2 separate regions of the Homo sapiens genome follow, and region 2 is linked to region 1. Evidence: promoter capture Hi-C in 16 types of primary human blood cells and fetal thymus (Javierre and others, 2016). All regions are on one chromosome and are shown on one strand. Each heading gives the region's core, a stretch centred on a gene start or on the middle of the fragment in contact. The rest is flanking DNA. Distances are from core to core; before and after follow the strand shown. Region 1 holds the start of SC5D (sterol-C5-desaturase). Region 2 overlaps MIR100HG (mir-100-let-7a-2-mir-125b-1 cluster host gene).

Region 1 (5,963 bases), core at 1,529-4,028:
ATAAACCTCTTTTCTTTGTAAATTACCCAGTATCAGGTATTCCTTTATAGCAATGCAAACGGACGAATGCAGAAAGAAAGGGTCTTCATTTCCTAACTTCAGAAACTACAGTCTTTGTAGTTTCCTTTGTAGTACCTTTGTAAAGACAAAGGTCTTTAAACAGTTTAGTGCTTAGTGTTCTCATTAAAGTATAATGTTATATAATGAACGTGGGCTGATAAATTATTGATGCATTGAAAGGCAACATTTCATTGAAAAAAATTCAAACTCAATCTCAGTTTAGAATCTTCCAAGTGAATGAGGACTTCTAACTCTGTTCAGGTCAAATGTAGCCCTCTCAGAGAAACTGACTGACCATGCTGTCTGAAGTTAACAGCTTCCGTTAATTTTGATTCTCTTACCCCATTTTCTTTTTCTTCATAGCACTGTCCGACATTGTATTATATATCTATTTATTTATTATCAGTTTTCTGTCTCCTTACTAGTGTGTAAGCTTCATTAGAGCAGACTTTGTTTTGATTATCAGTATATCTCCTGTGCATATGACAGTGCCTGACACTTATCACCATTACATAATGATTTATTGAGTAAATAAATTGAGTAATTTAATGATTAAATGGTTTGTTTCCATGTTCATGTTCCATCCAGACACATAGGCAGGTATTGTGGCTTATCTCTGAATTCCTTGGTACTGGCTGGTTGGTACCATAGACCCTTGCAAACAATGAATAAATAAATTACCCTGATCCATCAGTGTGCCTGGATAGAAAAGACATGTAGGAATGCTGCACCCCAGGATGTGCTATTAATACACTTATACACCACGGAATACTATGCAGCCATAAAAAAAAGAATGAGTTCATGTCTTTTGCAGGGACATGGATGAAGCCGGAAGCCATCATTCTCAGCAAAATAACACAGAACAAAAAACCAAACACCACATATTCTCATTGAGTATGTGGGAGTTGTTCAACTGTGGGAGTTGAACAATGAGAACACATGGACACAGGGAGGGAAACATCACACACCGGGGCCTGTCAGGGGGTGGAGGGCAAGGGGAGGGAGAACATTAGGACAAATAACTAATGCATGCAGGGCTTAAAACCTAGATGACGGGTTGGAAGGTGCAGCAAGCCACCATGGCACATGTATACCTATGTAACAAACCTGCACGTTCTGCACATGTATCCCAGAACTTAAATAATAATTAAAAAATACACTTAAATTTATTTTTAAACAAGATTGTTCTCTTGAGGTTAACTTATTACTACTTTGAGTTGTCAGGAGTGATTGCAAATTTCTTGGGAATCCCTAAGTCACCAAGAATAAAGACCACTTGTAATAGCTAAGGCATATTCAACAATAAAATTCTAGAGATTCAGGATATTTGATGTTTGCTTATAACATTTCACTTTTGAGCTTTTATTCGTTTAATAAATGTTTTATCATCTATGCTCAATAACATTTTAAAGTGTCCATTCAAATCATTTCATTGGGCAAAACAATGTTCCTTCCCTAATTTCCCTCATCAGAATAGCCATTTTGTCTCTGTGCTCAGCCTATACCACCAATTACTGTTTATTTCCTGTCCTTGTAATAAGCAACATAGTTATTTATACATGCCCATTTCTCCCACAGCACATAAGCTTTTTAAGGTTGGGAACCATGTCTTTGTCATTATTGTAACATCTCTTTCCATTCCCGGTGTTCAGTACGATGTGTTAAACGAAGTAGACACTCAAAACTTTTTAAAATTTATTTTTATTTATATAATGAGTCTTTTTTAAAAAAACCACCTACACTATTTTAAATTCATTTGAACTTTGTCCAGTATCCTATGTACATTTGAAGTTTAACTACCGGAAAAGTCTTTTGAAGGCAGATCGAATCATGTTATTTTTTTCCCTTAAAAATCCCTCATTTCTGTCATGTATTCCCCATATTATTTATGTAATAGGTAAAGTGGCCCAGTTTGCCACTTTGAAGTTGCTGAGCTGGTATCACAAGTCAGTCCCCTCTGTTTTAATCTCTGTTTAAGGAAAGTCACTCTGAAACGACAGATCTTTTGGTTCCTTATTTCTGCTTTCCTCCGTCCTCTTCTGCCTGTGAAGCCACCCTCCTCTGCTCAGCTCTGTTTCAGGAAATCGGAGCTGCTCGATTCATGTGTAGCAAATCAAAGCCAATTAGATCTGCGTTAACCTTGGTTTTCAACAACTTGTATCGTGAAAAGGTTTCTGTCCATGTTTACCCTCATCTTGTCACCATTTAGACCCCTACATACACCGGCTCGCGGAGCCTCCAGCCATTCAGCGCTAGAAAATCGGGGGGACTACGTCTTAAAACCTTGAGCACCTGTTTGGGAACATCTGCACCTCCTCCCTTGAGGGAGAAAACGACCCAGACATTCGCGTCAAAGGAAGTGTCGTCTATTTCCCTCAACGCAGGGCACCCGTTCTAGGAATGTTTGTATAAACACCGTAAACCTGCCTGGTACCACCATGAATGACACAAGAGCTAGTTTAAAAAGAAAGCAAAGAAACAAACGCAAAACCCGAAACCGCATCCTCCACCGCAAAGGTACTCGGATGGGGCGCCCGCCCTCCCCTTAGTCAGAGGACAAAGGGGGCGTGGCCGAGCGCGCGGCGCCCACGTGACCGCGGAGAGCTGCGCGCAGGCCCTTCGCGCGATCTGCCGTCATATCAGCTTATGGCGCCGGTCGCTGATTGGCTGGCCGCTCCAGCCTCCCGGCCCGCTTGCTGGCTGCCCAGCTGCTAGGACAGTTTGCAGAGCAGTGGCGTGCGGAGCGGCGGCGGACCACCTCCAGGTGGGGACGGTGGGTGGGCGGGGAAGGAAGCGGAATACACCTGAGCGGGCTGGGCCGGGGGGCGATGGAATAAAAGAAGATGGAGAGACTTCAGCGCCTGGGACTCGGGTGGGCGAGGCGGAAGGTGTCCTCGCAGCACGGCTTTTCTCCGCGCCGCGGTTGGTTAGCGAGTGCCCTCTGGGTGCTAGGCGTTGGGCGGATGGTAGGATCGCGGTAGCATACGGATCCGAGTCCTGCGCCGAGTGAGAGGAGAGGCTGGCAGGTAGCCTGGCATCCCGAAGACTGGCGGCGAGGGCTGGGCCGGGGGACCTCGGGGCCTGGAGGGCTGCGCCACCTGGGAGTCCGGGCGGAGGGGCCTTCCGCTCGCGCTGGGAGGGATCGCGGGGCCGATAGGGAGGCCTGGACTTGAAGGAGCCGACCGTGGACGGGCTTAAAGAAAATGCAGTGTTTGATGTTGGGTGTTGCAGATCTCTTACTCAAGGGAATTCTGGTCTGGCTGCTGAACACGAATGCTTTACTTTTCCCTTCGTTCTGGGAGGGTTTTTTTCTTTTAAAGGCCAGAAGAATCAGGCTGAAGAACTGGTCGGTATCAGAACTCCTGACCATTGCAAGCCTCTGTTGCTGCGGCGTAATTAGAATGAAGGGACAGCAATCTGGGGCTGAGGAGACTGAAAGGAAAAGGGAAATAATCTGTTCCTTTTGCATCATAAAAGGAAAAATAATGTATACTGACATCCCTGTGTTACAGCAGAGTAGATTTGGAGGTGGTGTAAGTGAAGAAAACAAGACCTCAGTACATAGAGTTTCCAAACTGGAAAGTTTGTGGCAGCTCGGTACTTTTAGAGGAAACCCTCTGGAAGTTATTTGTCTTTATATCACTATCATTTTTTAAAGTTTCTAATGATTGATACCTAGTAAATAATAACTGATCCTTGATCATTTACAGAGTGCTTTTCCATTCGTTATGTAATGTAATTAATTAGCATGGGGTGGTACTCAGAATCCCTCATCTGCATATAAAACATCTTGAGAGATAACATAACGTGGTAGCAAAGAGAAAGGTTGTGGAATGTACATCCCAGCTGGTTTTTTCTGTTATTGTTGCTTGCTACTGAACAAGTTATTTAAATACTCTGACCTCAGTTTCCCTATCTATAAAGTGGGGAGCATAGAAGTACCTATCTCATAGAGGTATAGGGATTAGATGAGGTTATACAAAAATAATACCTGGTTCTCAATAAATATTAGCTATCATTTTCTATACTTTTAAAGTAGGGCAAAAAGATAATGGTAGACTGAGTTGTTCTAAGCCTAATATTGTTATTATAACTGAGTTTTAAGAAGAAGTTTCTTTAATTCTGCAAGGACAAAGTATTTAAGTTTCTGTTTGAAGCAGTGGTACTTAATTTAGGGTCCTTGGGACCCCTAACTTCAGGGCTTATAACCCCTTAAAATTATATGAGCTTGTAGAGGCACTGAACATTTTTAAAAATTCAGGAGTTGACGACTTGAAGTAGTGGTGAAGAGGCTATAGAACTTGGCAGAAGTTCACGTACTTTGCAACTAGATTGTGTGTATTTGAATCCTAGCTCCAGCATTTATTTACTCTTATGACCCTATGCAAGTTACTTAAAATTTCTGTGCCCAGCTTCTTCATCTATAAAATAATACTAGTACCTACCTTTGAGGCTTCTTGAAAGGGAAAATTAGTTAATATATTTAAAATATTTATATTACCTAGTATATATTAAATATTACTATCAACTACTGTCAGTTATTTTTCAAACAAAAATCAAGTGGCACCTATTTTATCTTCTATTGAAGTAATTTTGACGCATTTTTGACGGCCTTAACAGTGATAATCATATAGATGCTATTTTATTGAGTACCTTTCTTGGGTCAAATGTCAAAAGTCTACTTAGTCTCTAAACCTCACAGCAATCAAACATGTTTGTGTTCTTTTTGGTTGCACGATACTATTCTAGGTATTGTATTGAAGTAGGGCCACATGGCACTGTGGGGAACATGTAGATTGGCTCATCAGCTGTTACCAACCTTTAGTGATATAGCAATATCCTTTTCAATTATTAAATGTTTATGTTATCTGATATTACGTAGTACCCTGTCCCTGCTACACCACCTCCCTTGGCAGTCTTCACCCCTATAACTTCAACTACTACCTGTATACTAACCAGGCTCGCTTTTGAACTTCACATTTATATTTACATGTGGCCTATTGCTTATATCTAAGATAGAAGATGAGCCACAGATAATTAGGTTTTAAGATCTACATTGAACCCGTTTTGAACCCCAGATATCTGAGACAGGTCTCAGTCAATTTAGGAAGTTTATTTTGCCAAGGTTAAGGATTCACCCGTGACACAGCCTCAGGAAGCCCTGACAATATGTGCCCAAGGTGGTCGGGGACACAGTTTGCTTTTATACATTTTAGGGAGACATGAGACATCAATCAATATGTGTAAGAAGTACATTGGTTGGGTCTGGTAAGGCGGGACAACTCACAGTGGGGGCTTCCAGGTTAGAAGCAGATAAGAGACAAAGGTTGCATTATTTTGAGTCCTTGATTAGCCTTCCACTGAATGCACACATTTCGTCTGGCTCAGTGAATCTGCATGTTTACATAAACAATAGGGCAGAGGAAGCAATCAGAAATCCATTTGTGTCAGGTGAGCCTCAGAGGGATGACTTTGAGTCCTGTCTGTCCTTTATCCACAAAGGAATTTTCTGAGGGCAAATTGTGAGGGAGGGATGTAGCTTCTCATCCTTGTAGCTGTCTTATTTAGGAATAAAGCGGGAGGCAGGTTTGCCTAACATAGTTCCCAGCCTGACTTTTCTCTTAGCTTAGTGATTTTGGAGTCCCAAGATTTATTTTCTGTTCACACCATCATTCCTTACCCACCCCCTATTCCTACCCTACCCAAATCTGCTAGCTCTGCCAGTATTCCCTATTTCAATTACAATGACATCACCATCTACTTAGACCAGCTAAAGTCTCACAGTCATCCTAGATTTCTCTCTCTTTCACTTCCCAGCAAACGTGGGTTATCCAAATCCTGTGGGTGTTTTTACTTGCGCGAAATCTCTGCTGGCTAGTCTTAACAGCCACTGCCCGAGGTCA
Region 2 (5,963 bases), core at 1,371-3,870, 920 kb after region 1:
GACTATTATCTTGATGGTGATGGGTATTTCTCTGCTGCACTTATACTTCCCTTCCTCAAATCATAAAACATTTATTATATATCACCACAATCAAGTTGTAATAATAATCCACGATGATAGCAATAGTCTAATGAAGAAATATGCTCTGGTAAAGATCCTTGGATATCAGAGAGCAGTGTAAAGATTGTAGAGGACAGGTGCAGTGGCTCACGCCTGTAATCCCAGCACTTTGGGAGGCCGAGGTGGGCGGATCACCTGAGGTCAAGAGTTCGAGACCAGCCTAGCCAACATGGTGAAACCCCATCTCTACTAAAAATACAAAAAATTAGCCAGGCATGGTGGTGTGTGCCTGTAATCCCAGCTACTCGAGAGGCTGAGGCAGGAGAATCACTTGAACTCGGGAGGTGGAAGTTGCAGTGAACCAAGACTGCACCACTCCAGCCTGGGCAACAGAGAGAGATTCCATCTCAAAAAAAAAAAAAAAAAAAAAAAGACTGTAGAAAGCAACTTGGAGAATAATTAATAGAAAAAACAACTCAGACAGTTTACCCATCATTAGAGCATTGATATTTCTGGGGTTGAATGCAGTAGTGGCTAGGAATGGACATTAACTTTTCACACTGAGGGGAATAACACACTATACCACACACAATGTTGAGGATTCAAATTCTAGAGAGTGTCTTTGTCATGTGTTAATGATGGATATAAAGGTTCTCTATATGAGGCCTATGATAGTCAATGGTCATTCCTCTAACTTGGGAATGGTATGGGCTATACAGATAACAGCCTAGAGAGTTAGAAGCTAACTTTCTTTCAAAAAAAGATGAGGAGAAGAAGGGAAGGGAAGGGAAGGGAAGGGAAGGGAAGGGAAGGGAAGGGAAGGGGAGGGAAGGGGAGGGAAGGGGAGGGAAGGGGAGGGAAGGGGAGGAGAGGGGACAGGAGGGGAGGGGAGGGGAGGGGAGCTCAGCAAATTCTGGGGCACAACTTACAATTTTGCCTGATGTCTTACCACACTGCACAGCTAGGAAGTTCTTCTGAAGATCTAACCTGTGTTTCTTCTGGTGTTTTTGTTTATTTGTTTACCATAGATTATTTATAGCCTTTTTCCAAACAGAGAGATACTCACAGCCCTTCCCAGTTGGCTGTTTGGCTCAGCTAACAGAGCTGCTCTAAAAGTCATGGTTAAAACTTCATTCCCCTAAAAGGGTCATCGAGTTTGCTCCATAAGAGAGCTATATCAATCACCCTTCCTAAATGACACTCTTGTCATACATAGAAGAGAAGCCAGGCAGGTGAGTAGATGCCATTATCACCACTGCTTCTGTCTATTAAAAAAATAAAAACAAGATTTCTGCCTACTCTCCAACCCAGCCAAAGAGAGCCTCAGAGTCAGACACCTGGAATTAACCCTCATCCCTGCATCTACAGAGGACGCCTGGCCAGAGCAGTGCCGGCGGTGACAGAGCTGGGACCACTGACATCTGAAATGCATCCTGCACTCCAGCCCTTATGTGGTACTTGCTTGTCTCATAAAACCATTTTGTTTTTTGAGGATGGAGATAAGGTCCTTTAACACAATTTTCAATCTATAGTTGTACTCCAACGTGTTCCTTATACATCTACAATTTCTTCTATCTTATAAAATAAAATACACCCCTGATTTCAGAAAAAAAAAAAAAAAGCACAGCATTAAAAAAAGGAATCTGAGAGGCCACGAGGCTTTTCACATTTTGCCAGAACCAGGCTTTTGTCTGTGCTGGCGCCCTGGAGCTCAGGGATTTCTTAGGAATGAGAGTACAAGTGGCCTTAGGACCTCAATGATTGGAAAGAGACACCTTGAAGGCTGGAAGGAGGAGGTAAGGGCAGAGTTGCATCCAATCTGTGCTCATCTTCCTGTTCAGAATTACCTGGGCAGGTAGCTTAACATCTCCTAACCTTGGTTTCTTCACCTGTAAAATGAGAATAATAAGACAACACATCCCACAGGATCTTTGAGAACACGTATTCAATGGAATGAAACCCTCAGCACAATGCCTGGCACCTCGGGAGTGACCATTAACGATGCCTCTTGTTATTAATATTATCACAATCATCTCAGGGGGGCAAAGTAGCAAAGACTGACCGTGGGAAAGAGAGCTGTGGGAAAGTGACAGAGGTGCTGCCATCCCCTCGGCCCTACCCATGACCCCACTGTCAGGGGTGCAGAATATTTCTCCCATTCACCAGGTCCCAACCCACTCCCAGATAGAGCAACGTGGTGAAACAATAAAAGCCTGACTCCCGCAAGATGGCACCATGACGGGCTGTGCCTGGATCCAGAGGAGATGTCTCTGTCCAGCATTTCCATCAGGCTCTTCCGAGCCAGCTCCTGGGGTGCGCACAAAGACCCATTCAGGATGGCTGGAGTTCTGAAAGCCAGCAGATGAGCCGAGGGGCCGGGAAGGGGGTGGAGAATCAGCACAGCCCCTGGCACTAACCCCACTGGGACCTGCCCTGGGCAAGCAGGCGTGGAGGGCTCAGGTCTGCCGCCACGGCTGCACTCTTTGTTTTCCCGCAGATTCCGTTCTCTGATGGTGGTCCAGGGCACCAAGGACACCAGCTGCCATGGCTGGGATTGAATGACCTCCCTGGGGTGGCTGGGAACCCCCACTCCCATAGTGCCAGCCCAATGGGCAGGATACCCAGTGGAAACAGGCCATTACTAACAGGCCTGCCATTTCGAAAGTGCCTCTTTCTGGGAAAATTGACTCTCAGAGGTTCCCACCCTGGGAAGGTACAGTGAGAAATAAGAAGCTAAATTACTATGCAGTAGCCAATAGTTATTCCCCAGGGCCTAGAAAGTGACTCTGTGCCCCTCAGCCTCAGTTTCCCCACCTGTACAATGGGGCTAGGTACAACAACCTGTTGGAACTCAAAAAGTAGCTGCTGTGAGAGAACTTATCAGTAGTAGTTGGTTTGTTCCCTTTGAACACAAATATATCAGATCTGATGCATCAAGGATATGCCAGTCCTGCAGCTCCCTGAATGTTAGAGCACAGAGGCTGCTTAATGGATCATGATCCTTGGATGCAAATGAAAATAAGATTCCCTCTTTTACTCTTTCCCTCCTAAGTCTATAAGAGGCTGTCCTAACAAGGTGACAAGCTGAACATGCAATAGAAAACTGAGCCCCTTTAGGCTGCCAGAATTGTAAGACATTTCTTGTGGGACAACAGCATTTCCCAGATGACTCAATTCAGAAGGACTAAAAGGAGTTTCTGTGACCTGAAGATGTTTGTACATCAGCTAATCTAGCTTTCCACCTTTGCTGGAATATGCTGACTGCATTTATTTCTCTAGATATCTCTCACCCAATAGTAAGACTCAGTAGAAGCACTACCTCCTCCAGGAAGCCTTCCCTGACTACACAGCTTGAATTAGTGCACTTTCATATTCTCCCACAACACCCTGGGCACATATACTTCTCTCTTAGCAATCAGGAAATTATATTGAAATTGTCTGCTTGTTAGTCTCTGTCTTCTTGGTGACCAGGTACTATACTTTACAATCTTTTTTACTCCAGTATCTAATACAGTGCTGGCATAATGCAGGAATTTAATAAGTGTTTATTGAACTACATGGATGTGTATCTCTCTCTAGAGTATTTGCTAGCATAAACCCCCATTTGTATTTTATAAGGGTATCCCATAACCTCTGCTCTTAGGAAGTTCTATCTCATATCTAACTCAGTTCTCTCCTGCATGCATATATTTCTCTTTTTTCAAACCTTGGGAGACCACAGCCGGTCACGATCCTCATTCTTATCAGAGTGATCATAGAAATCACAACTTGCACTCATCATTGTTTTTCTCTCAGGTTCAGCTTTATTTTTTTTGGTCTGAAATCAGGAATGAACTTTCACAGTCTCAACTCTGGCCATTTTTCCTTTTAACAAACAAATAGAAAAGAACTTCCAAGAATGATTTTGACCAGATAGAGTCTGCTCCTTTTAACAAGATTGTGTGAAGCACCTACTGTGTGCCAGGCTGTGTGTGATGGAGAGGGAGCAAATGCATAAGTCCCTGACATCAAGAGATCTTCAACCTAAAACAGAGAATAATGGGGGTACTGAATTTAATTCATAAAAAGTAGCACCCCACTTTCTTGTGATCCCTTGGTTAGAATCACCAACTTTTATGAGTTTGTAGAAAAGCCCAGAGTGCTAAAAAGTAAAAAGCAAACATTCCATTTCTGAGCAATTTGGGAGAAACTAAATTTGGCCCAGTCAGGAGACACGTTGGGGAGTACCTTAAAGGATAAGTGTCAAGTGTCTGTTGACATTTCTAAAGAAATCCATTTGCATTTTCACTGCTAAGGAGAGGCCGGCCTCCACTGGCCACACATTCAGAAAGCTGGCAGGAGCCACTGGTCAGCAACCCCCAATCAAACAGGCTTCCTCTTTCTGGCCAAAGAGCTCAGGGTCTGCGTGACTTGAGGCAAGTCATCCAGGGACATTTGGGATTCTGATCTAGTGAGCCAGTGAAGACGGTACAGATAAGGCCCAGACAGAAATCTGGCAGCCTAAGTAACATCTGGTTGGTCTGAGGTTTGGACTCTGGCTGGGGCCGGGAGCCCAGGGCTGGCGACTGGGGAGCCTGCACTTGGAGCTGGTGACAGCAGGTGGCGCAGGAGCGCAGAAACCAACCTTCAGTGGGCCCTGAAAGAAATCATGGTGTTAATGCCACCCCAAACCACAGCCAAGCAAGGCAAAGGCGACCATGTTGTCCTCAAGTCCTGAAAAGGGCAAATTGCACAGATGGAGCAAAGAACCATAGATGGGCAATTCTCCGGTAAAGAAAAGCCAAGGTAGGTCGTCAGAGATCTAGGTAAAATCCTTCGATGGTCAAGGACTTCAGAACTTTAGGAAATGTGCAAAGAAAATGAAAGAGAAAGACAACACATAACATTAAGTTCAGGAGCAATATAAGAGCTCCTGGAGAGGAAAGGCTCAAGTCACTTTGAACCCTTAGGGCAGCTGATGAGCCAGGTATCATTCTCCAAATAGCCTCTCCTTCCCTCCAGCAACAAAACGCAAACAGAATATTCACAACAAAAACCTCACCTATTACAGTTAGTAAAGCCTCGAAAATCAACATTTTTAAACAAAAAATGGAAATGTTATCTCCTTCTTAAAGCTAGTAGAAGGCACCTTCTTGTTGCCCCAATCTCTGCATAAGTTCTCCTCCAAAGCATATCACTGGGGGAAGAAGGGAGAAAGTTCCCCTCCAGTAAGTATCCAAGGTTCTTCTGTTTGTGTGCCCAAAATGGGACAAAAAAGCATAGTCCTACTTATCTATTTACCTAACACCATAAGTCGAGGAATTTTAAGCAGCTGATTCTAAAAGCTAGAATAAAAGCGTTACACACAAGATACGAGACAACCTCCCTCCAAAAGATAACGGGCACAAGCAGTAGACTGCTGAGATATGCAATGGAGAATCTTCCCTCATCCACTTAAGCAGTAAGGGTTGGCTTTGGGATAAATCTCAGGGAATGCAAAGAATATTACTTATTTTTCCATTTGGTTTACTTTCATGTTGTTACTTCTCTCGTGGGAAGTAGATGCCTAAGCTCTGATGTATATAAATCCATTTTCAGTGTTTACTTAAGTACATATACATACACTATAGCAAAATGTTGCTTTGCTTGAAAAATCATTGAAACATTTGATGTGTTTGCTCTCAATCAATATTCTGCAAAAAGCATCTGGGTTCGCTGCTCAACTAGGACAGTAGACAAGTCTGGAGTCTTTTCCATGAGCCACCTGCCACTTGCCAGCTCTATGGGGTCCCACATCACAGTTGTCCCAGTAGCAGACAGTATAAGGGCTATGTGATTTAGGCTGCAACAAAGGGTGATGACAGAACAGAGAAAGGCAAGGTGAATTCCCTCTGAATGTGACCAGAAAGGCTTCATGGAGAAGG

The links. The method cuts DNA at HindIII sites, captures the fragments that hold promoters and counts their contacts. A CHiCAGO score of 5 or more calls a contact.
Region 2: a contact is called between a fragment that was not itself captured here and the fragment with the promoter of SC5D in region 1, in 1 of 17 cell types (monocytes). The highest score is 5.1, in monocytes.

What each region holds. Positions count from the first base shown.
Region 1 is chr11:121,289,993-121,295,955 of GRCh38, forward strand. SC5D (sterol-C5-desaturase) reads left to right here and starts at 2,779. Exons shown (of 5, transcript NM_006918.5): 1 at 2,779-2,824. RefSeq lists enhancers at 2,521-2,570, 5,284-5,825, 5,826-5,963 and a silencer at 2,741-2,790. The HindIII fragment of the contact is 7,130 bases long and covers 1,645-5,963 here.
Region 2 is chr11:122,210,936-122,216,898 of GRCh38, forward strand. All of the region lies in intron 2 of MIR100HG (mir-100-let-7a-2-mir-125b-1 cluster host gene), which reads right to left. Among named protein-coding and RNA genes, the nearest start is that of MIR100, 62 kb to the left of the region's middle. RefSeq lists an enhancer at 4,715-4,764. The HindIII fragment of the contact is 8,380 bases long and covers 1-5,963 here.